2 separate regions of the Homo sapiens genome follow, and region 2 is linked to region 1. The links are contacts of gene promoters, found by promoter capture Hi-C in blood cells and fetal thymus (Javierre and others, 2016). All regions are on one chromosome and are shown on one strand. The core of a region is centred on a gene start or on the middle of the fragment in contact, and the rest is flanking DNA. Distances in the headings are between cores, read along the strand shown.

The links. Contacts are between HindIII fragments. The CHiCAGO score rates a contact against its expected background, and 5 or more counts as called.
Region 2: a fragment that was not itself captured here is called in contact with the fragment with the promoter of PALMD in region 1 in 6 of 17 cell types (naive CD8 T cells, naive CD4 T cells, total CD4 T cells and 3 more); the score reaches 7.6 in naive CD8 T cells.

The regions. Positions count from the first base shown.
Region 1 is chr1:99,644,159-99,648,932 of GRCh38, forward strand. PALMD (palmdelphin) reads left to right here and starts at 1,955. Exons shown (of 8, transcript NM_017734.5): 1 at 1,955-2,204. The coding sequence starts at 2,160. The HindIII fragment of the contact is 18,161 bases long and covers 1-4,774 here.
Region 2 is chr1:98,778,074-98,782,847 of GRCh38, forward strand. No RefSeq gene overlaps it. Among named protein-coding and RNA genes, the nearest start is that of SNX7, 120 kb to the left of the region's middle. The HindIII fragment of the contact is 205 bases long and covers 2,238-2,442 here.

The DNA.
Region 1 (4,774 bases), core at 705-3,204:
ATCAGTTGTTGCAACTCTGCTCCCTCCTAAATTCCCATCCTCTTTTTTTAAATCTTGTCCTCCCCTACACTAGCAAAATCTTGGGTTTTCCTCTAGCAGAAATGAGATTTGAGAGGTAAATTGTTTTTAGGAAAAGATCCAGACTAATAATTGGATGACTGCCCATTTGTTCTAGGCACCAAATATGCAATTCTGACTGAGATATTTATCATTACTGCTTTCTTGTCTTTAATTTCAGCCAGGATCTACAAATAAACATAATCAGAAGTCTTGAAGGTTTGATTTTTTTTACACTTAAATATGTTTCCAACAGTAATCAAACTTGGCACACATCCAAACAATCCTCCCATTCTCTGGTCTCCCTAAGTATCCCTTCTGAGGGTGTATGAGCAAGGACAAACTACTCTCAAGTATAATTTCAGACTCTTAAAACATGGGTTTCACCTTATAGTGACTGACAGAATGAGGGCTCTGTGGTTGGGGAACTCCAGTCAACAATGTGGGGAAACCTCAGTAGGGCCAATAAGTTTCTCCAGAGGACATTCCCACACCGTTCTGCCTTAGGCTGTTACACCCAGCTGTAGTGTTCTAGGAGCTAGACAGAGAAGGAGGCTGGGGGTCCAACCACTTCTCATAAAGACTGACTTAACCTTCAGCCTGTGCCTCTCCTTGCCCCGTGTCCTTGGGCAGTCCTTGATGAATGCCACTTATAAAGTCAGGCAGCTGGTGTTCCAATCCTGGCTTTGCTACTTACTAGCTATATGGCAAATTACCTCTCTGAGCCTGTTCCCTCATTTTTAAAGTAGGGATTATAGCACTTATCTCTCAGCACTTTGCAAGTATGCATTTACCTGTAGAAAGAATGCAACAAATATTAGCTATTATTATTACTAATATCAAAACTGCAAAGGAAATTAAACCATATGTTCAATGTTTGGGTTGTCCTTTTAACCTCTTCAGCTGAATGTTGATATGAAAGCGCTTAATAGCATTCAAACACATAATAATAAGGTAGTTGGTAATTAGGATTTACTTCAGCAAAATTTAATTAAAGAACCTGTAGGGAAAAGAAAACAGACAGAGCCAATTGTACAGCTTCCCAGCCTCTGCTTTGACCTAAGAGTCTCACTGGGCTTGCCTGCCTTTTTCTAAAGGATGGGCGAATATTCACACAGTGCCGGGCTCCAGGCAGTTACCAAATGTCTCATCACATTTTCAAAGGCTCACTCCTCTCTCTTGCGTAACCGGTGAGGTCAAAATGGGCACCTTCCTGAAAGCCAAGAGTGTCATTTCTGAACAGCGTCCAAGAAAGAAAACTGCATTCCATAGAAATCCAAGTCAAGCAATAACAAAAGGTGGCACTTGGTGCTTAAGCCACACTAAATACCTTGGTGGGCCAACTTCTTAATATAGTCACATTAACACCTTTGATTTCTCCATGACCTAAAGATTCCAAAGTTTGCAACAAAGTGCTGAGCAGGGGGGTCGGGGGTGGGGTGTAGACGGGGGAGAACGAACCAATGTAAATTTACCACTACATGAAGTTTAAAGTAGCTATAGATTGTTGTATTATTATCAAATCCAATCAGTGGAAGAAAGGCAAACAAGTGACTTGGCACTTCTGCCTCAGTCAAGGTAAGGCTCTCTCCCCTAGAGCTAGCAAGCAGGTAAACGAGCTTTGTACAAACACACACAGACCAACACATCCGGGGATGGCTGTGTGTTGCTAGAGCAGAGGCTGATTAAACACTCAGTGTGTTGGCTCTCTGTGCCACTCCTGGAAAATAATGAATTGGGTAAGGAACAGTTAATAAGAAAATGTGCCTTGCTAACTGTGCACATTACAACAAAGAGCTGGCAGCTCCTGAAGGAAAAGGGCTTGTGCCGCTGCCGTTCAAACTTGTCAGTCAACTCATGCCAGCAGCCTCAGCGTCTGCCTCCCCAGCACACCCTCATTACATGTGTCTGTCTGGCCTGATCTGTGCATCTGCTCGGAGACGCTCCTGACAAGTCGGGAATTTCTCTATTTCTCCACTGGTGCAAAGAGCGGATTTCTCCCTGCTTCTCTTCTGTCACCCCCGCTCCTCTCCCCCAGGAGGCTCCTTGATTTATGGTAGCTTTGGACTTGCTTCCCCGTCTGACTGTCCTTGACTTCTAGAATGGAAGAAGCTGAGCTGGTGAAGGGAAGACTCCAGGCCATCACAGTAAGTCTGCATACAGTTATAACTCATTAACGTTGTTACTTAGAGGAAGGCAGACCGTGGCCGGCTGCCCCTGTCGCTGAGCCCTCGCAAGTGGAAAAACAGAACTGTCAGCCTTCATGGACGAGTCTCTGTTTCTCTCTTAACCCTCATGACCCTCTGTAACTCTGGGGCTTCAGAACCTGAGTGCAGGGCAAACGTTCTTGATTTTCAAAAAGGCTGTGCCTGCATTTTAAACAACAATCAAAAGCTGTTAAGGCAGTCTGATTAACTATCTTTCACACTCTGTGGTGTACCTTAGAAATGCAGTTTTTCCTTAAATGTCCATTTGACTGGCATTAGATAAAAAAACAGATCCCCAACTTGGAAACTTTTTTAAGCTATGAATGCCTCAAAAAGTTAGAATTTTTTTTAAAGAGAGAAAAAGAAATTTTAAAAATGACCTGAAACTTTATATTTGTAGTGTGGTAGCATGTTCCAGAAAGCCTAAAATAATTAAAATGAATGTTAATATACGTAATTTAAGCATTAAACAAGAGAAAACTAGGTAAAAGCACGTATCAGATTAATTCTAAGATATCAGTTTCCAGCAGAGTCACAAACTGAATAAGATCCTGATAAAGGAATGCAGTGCATGCAGTGGATTTGGAAAATATTTTGTTAATACCGAGAAGGAAAATCGTACATTTTTTATGTTTGTTCCGGGAAAAAGTCAAAGCCAGAAATAAATTACTTTTCTTAAATGATCCAGCTTTCTTTTTAATTTTATAAAACCCTGTATTTGGCAGTAACTTGGAAATCTGTGTCACAATCATTTATCCCTAGCTATAACTTTTGATGTAATTGTTTTAAGAAGAAAAAGATCTTTGGAAAGCAATATCCCAATTTCTCAGCATTTTCTGCCACTGACATTAGGTATAGGAAAAAAATGAGTACTTTTTAAAAACTGATGCTAGATCAGGGATTTTTTGTTGTTGTTCTTAAAATTTTCATTGCATAACTAATTATGCTAATCCTAATTTAGATTTTTTACTAATTGATACAATATCTTAGTTTCACCCAGGAAACATTCAGTAAATTGAAATGTCTTCTTAGCCAATAGTAAGACACCAGAAGTCTATTGATAAGGTTGGCACTTTTCCATAAAACAATGCTTTGTTAAATGTCTAGCTTCTAATTATTACATTTTCCTCTCTTCAGAAAACCTTGGTCGGGATTATTGTTTGTTTTGTTTTGTCCTTTTTTGTCATTAAACTCAGCCACCATCTCAGCTGTCCTGCTTTAAGGGACAGGAACTCGGCTCTGCTCTGTTGTTTTTGGCATGGGCCTTTTACATTACAGCTGTTGTCTAAAGGTTACTTTATTAGACTGCGTGAGTTGTGTGGTCACAGGCTCCACTATTTCTAATGCTTATATCTCCTAATTAGCTAATTGAAATAGACAAGTAGACCCTTGTTCTGAATTTGCCTCTTTCAGTTGGGGGACACCCTCGCTCAAGCCCTTTTTCCCTCCAGTGTACCTTATAACTCTTACCAAAGCCACACATGTTCCAAAGATATGGCTGTATACAGTTATTTCTAAGGCTAGGAATCTTAGTCACTGAAGGTTCCAAACGCAAATAGAGACAGAAAATCCTCATAATGTCTTAAAAGCCATCAAGAGAGTAAGTAGCTTCCTGAATATGCAGATGTATGCTTTTTTGATGATTAAAAAAATTTTTGGATTATTCCATCAGCCTAAATATATCCCATTAGAAAGGATTAAACAAATCTCCCAAGTAAGATCACAAAGTAATTCTAGCTTGGAAGTAATATACTTGTATAAAGGTTGTAGGGAAAAAACTGGAAAAAGTTTATGGGAACAAATTTCTCATAAACCAGCCTACACCTCACCAGGCTAAATCCAGTCACATTTGTCACCACCTAGAGGAAAAGTGGAGCAGTGGTGTGTCCATGGAAACAACACATCCACTCTCCTCCCTCTTGGACGCCCTGGGACACGCCAGCTTTCCTCGCCCTCGCCCTTGCCTTGCCCAGGAAGCCACCTCAGCTAGTCTCTTTCCCCCTAGGAAAATAAAATCACAGAGTATGCAGAGAGTTTGCAAGAATTATTTCATTTTTGGAAATGCTTAAGCCTCAGAATCTCCAACCTAGACTAAAACTCAGAGAGTATCTTCTCATTTTAGCTTTTTCCTAGTACTTACCTACACTGAAATAATTTTTTGTATACTTCAAGAATGAAATCAGAAGGCAATTCCCCAATGCACCCAGACATAGCAACACATAGACCTCACTTTGGAGGAAAAAAAAAAAACTTTTACACTCTAGGATCTATTTGCTTTTTACATTAAAATTCGTTTCTCCAATTGCTGGCTATAAAATAAAATAATCTTCACAGTTGTATTTATTCTACCTGGTTTCAAGTGCCTAAAAAGTCATTATTTTTCACTGCAAAGAACTGAAAAAATAAACGTATATACCTAGAATTTGACAGAACAAAGATCCAAGTGCCAGTCTTTTTCTTTTTCTCAAAAAAAAAAAAAAAAAGGTTAAACACATTAAGTAGTTGAAATG
Region 2 (4,774 bases), core at 1,090-3,589, 870 kb before region 1:
TTCTTTTAGGATGATGTAAATACTCTTGTCCTTGATGAGGATTACTGTACAATCGTGGAAATATTAACAATCAGATAGAGAGAACAACTTTATTACAGATTTGGCACAGTTAATTTATTCCTTTTAGCATTCAGAAATCCTTCATAAAAGTAGATAACAAAGAGTCTAATGTATAATCTTGTTGTGAGTGGGTGGTTATGCATTGAGATATCTGACACCCAGTTGTTAGAAGATCAGAAAAATGCAAAACCCAACTGAAAATTTAATTGTGTTTTCTTGTCACATGTGGCTCAGCAGAAAAAGGGAGGCACACTGTGCAGGGAACACTCTTTCTGAAAGCTGAGAGCCATTCATTTTGCACCATGTCCAAACAAATCTTATGGAGAAGAATAAATTTGTTTATATCATGCTCACCTTCATTCAATAATTTAATAATTCATTCACTCAAAGTTCTTTAAACAGAAATAAGAGAAACATAATTTATATAAGTGATTACTATTCCAACATACATTGACTCTAGTTCTAGTACAGGAAGCAAAGAGACACTTGACTGAATTAATTCAGTGATTCTCACTTTTCTCTTTTACCATTTCATTCTCTCCTATTACACTGCTACATTGAGTTTTCAGGAGCTGTTACCAACAAGCCACACGGCTCCCAGCCCTTCTTTGAATCCAGCTTGTTTGAGGAAAAAGAGGATGTGAAGAGGGTAAAGAAGTGCAGAAAGACATTTTTCCCAATTCCACATTTTTTTTTTTTTGAAATGGAATTTTGCTCTTGTAGCCCAGGCTGGAATGCAGTGGCACGATCTCAGCTCACAGCAACCTCCGCCTCCTGGGTTCAAACGATTCTCCTACCTCAGCCTCCCAAGTAGCTGGGATTACAGGTGCGAGCCACCACGCCTGGCTAATTTTTGTATTTTTAGTAGATATGGGGTATCAGCATGTTGGCCAGGCTGGTCTCGAACTCCTGACCTCAGGTCTCAAACTCCCGCCTAGCTTGGCCTCTCAAAGTGCTGGTATTACAGGCATGAGCCACCACACCCAGTCCCAACTCCAGAATCTTATGGGTCATTGCCATCACCATTAGACTGGCATTGAAGCTCCATTGACACTATATTTTCAAGCCCACAGTCCTTTGAGAAACCTGTGACCCCAGATAAATATGAAAGAGAAGTTTGTAATAATATGGTGTTGATTTCATTATGATGTGTTTACAATACTTCACACTTGATGTGTGACAATTTTTTCCACGGCTGCCTCAATAACTTTGTAATCTATAAAAATGTCATTTCCCCCCATTGTGAATCTAGAGTAAAATAAGGGTCTACCAGACAACAATGCTCTTCCAGGTAAAGAAACATAGGAGATGAGCAATGCTATTTTATTGTGACAACGGATAATATTTTTTGACAGATACTGGGTTAAGCATCTTACATGTGATTATTCCTTCTCAGTATTATGAAACTGGAACAATTATTGTATTTATTCACATAAGGAAAGTAAGCCTTGGAGAAGTGAAATAGCTCATACAATTTCACAAAACAATCAGTGTGATTCACACCTAAGTCAGTGCTCTCAACCATGCCCCTAAGTTCCCTTCCCCAGTCTAAGAAATCAAGAATTTATTTTGGAAGCATCAGTCACTTTATGTTTCTCTGAAACATTAGATCTACAGTGATGGGAAGCAGTGGAGCTTTCTCAGCGAAGTCCCTTGGAAGATAGAAAGAGTGCCAGCCACACTATGTAGAGGCAGAAAGAAGCACTGCGTGCTGCCAGCGACAGCCAGCCTCCCTCACCTTTAGAAACCCTGTTGAACCTCAGGGAAGGGGAACTATCAGTGTCCACAAATTTGGTGATCTACCTGGTAAGTCTTTGAGAACTGCTAACAATCAGTCTGTTTGGGTGGACTTTTATCCTGTGTTCATGTGAAGTCGCTTCACTTCCTAGAATATCTGCAAAATTAGGGAATATGAGCTGGCTGTTTCACTATTTTCTAACTCTAAAGTTAATTGGATCTATGAGATATCACATTTGGATAGTCATTTACCCTCACCTTTACCTCAGCCCTCATTTTATATCATGATATTTCTTTTCTAATGCTCAGTCCGGCCTGCATTCTTCTTTCTTAGCAAAATCATTCAGAGTTAGGAAAGAAACTAAACTAGTGAATGTGCAATTGTCAACTCAGCTTTAAACTACAAGATTTCAAAGAAACTATACTATTCTTCCCAGTTAAGCTTTGTCTAAATCTCTTAATCCCCCAAATAACATCCTAAGCAAAAACCTCCGTTCTTACTTTTAGGAAGAAGTTTTAAGCAGGTCTATTGGTAACTGTAACGCTTACTGACTTTTCAGTGACAAGAAGTGCTGAGGTATACCTTGTAAATCTAGCATGAATATACTAATCTATTTATTGAATGCCATTTGAGGTTTCTGTTTAAGCTTTTCAGTGGTCCTTGGGTAAAGATTGGGCCAGTTTCTTGCTGGTGTGTGTTTAATTTAGTTATAACAGGTGTTCTATTTATTGTGTAAATGGGATAATTCTAAGTTCTCGCTGTGATTTCCTCTCATTTACTATTATGTCTATAATACATGCCATGGACAATTTGCAAGTACCCAGCATCATTTCTCTAATGACATACACACCTTAGATTTAAGGAGATTAATACTATTGTAACTTCAAAGTCCTTTGATGAAAAACAGCATAATTATGGGATAAAAAATATTCACAAATGTTTTCTTAGTTCTTTCTAGTACCCTTAGCACCCAGCATGAGACTACTATTCCAGATTCATGTTATAGCTCCACATACAGCCAATTCAACCATTTTTGAATAAGCAATCTGCCAGTTTCATACTATGTAATGATCCAACCAATTTAACTGAATTTTCAGGGATTTTGAACAACCAAGCAGTCAATTCAGGCCAAATAGCTCATTTTACCTGCAGGTATAGTCTAAGCAACTGATTTGAAGGTTTATAAGTTAGTAAGTTTTCTCCACACAAAAATTATGTGTTATTAGAAAATATTGCCATTGCTTTACTGTGCTTTTAAAAAATATTCAAATATTTTTCTAAAATTAAGTTTGCAGAGAAGTATCCTAAATTTCAAAAAAGAATAAAATGTAAAACCAATAGTTTCTGAATTTATCTCTATAGTCTATTGAGAACAGCTTTAAGTTGGCAATGAAAAATCAAAATTAATATCTAGTGCTTTAATAAACATAGCTACTCAAGAATAGTATTAAAATATTAATTTTAAAAGGCAATTTTTCAAAAGATAAAGTGAGAAATATTTATTCAAAGCAATGCTCCTTAACAACAACAACAAAAAACAATTCTGGTTGAAGCCATCATTTTTTTTGTTTTGTTTTTGTTTTGAGGTTTTCTTATGTGAAGTATTTTACAAAGGAAGATTTGGGTCTACATGGTTGGTTAGACGTAACAGTTGCTATGGGAATATTTTATTCATTATTTAGAATTCTGAGACTTACGAAGTTATCATTTAGAAGAAAAATGAATGCACTTAGGGACATACACTTCACCCAACCTGAAAAATAAACAAATTGACAAAATATATGAAACAAAAGTTATCAAAACACTAGCATCAAGCAATGTAGGACAATGATCTCTGAGAGACAGGGGAAAATGATGTGAGCCCTGTTATTTCCCTATCTTATTGCCTTCAAGAGTGTTTCAGGACATAGTATAGGGATGCAGAATCTAGGCAGAGCCGGGCCAATTCTCTGAGTTGAAGAGACAGAGCTGAGAGTATGTGGGATAGTCTGCTGGAGAAGAGAGGGCTTCACAGAGAGAGAACTCCAGAGGTCAACAGCAAGCCCCTCCATGTCTTTAGCAGAGTGCTACTGAGTGCCCATGTATGAGGAGACCACCCAAGGACAGAGGAAAAAACTGACTAAATAGACTAAAAGTGACATTGCCTAGAAGTGACTCAAGGCTGGACATATCACCCATTCCCACCGGCCAAACTGGAAAAATCTCATGTTTCATGGAACACTGGGTAAAGCACACTGACCTGTCTTCAATAGTAGGAAATAATTAAGCTAAAACACCTTTCCAGTCACGCATAACAAACCTTAAAAGGAAGCTCCAACAGTATCCAAATAAATTACTCATGTATCAAGAACAAAGCTCAAGAATATCTATAGGAATCCAAAAACATTTAACATCCAACAAAGTAAAGTTTGCAATGTCAGGAATTCAATAAAATATTATAAACTGGCAAGATAGTACAAAAATATGATTTATAATGAGAGGAAATATCAACTGAAAACCACAACTGACTTAGACATTACAATTAGCAAATAAAGACATAAAACAGTTATATAACTATTATATATGTTCAAATATTAAGTATAGAAATGGAATTTATAAGAAAGACAAAAATGGAATTTCTAGAAAGGAAAACTAAAATGTGTGAGGGGAATGATATATTGGATGGGATTAATGACAAATGCAACATTGCAGATGTAAATATTGGTAAACATGTTGACATGAAAATAAAAACCATCAAGATAAAACACAAAAATAAAGGATAATATTTTTTAAAAAAATGAATGGACTATATAGATATGAGACAATTTCAAGTGGTCTAACATGCTTGTAAGTAAGTGGCCAAAGCAAGGAGAGAGACAGAAAAAATATTGAAGAAAGTAAGTTTGAAAATTTTCAAATTTGATGAAAACAGTAAACTCACAGATCCAAGAATCACAATGAACCCCAAATTCAAGAAACATGAAGACAATTATAACA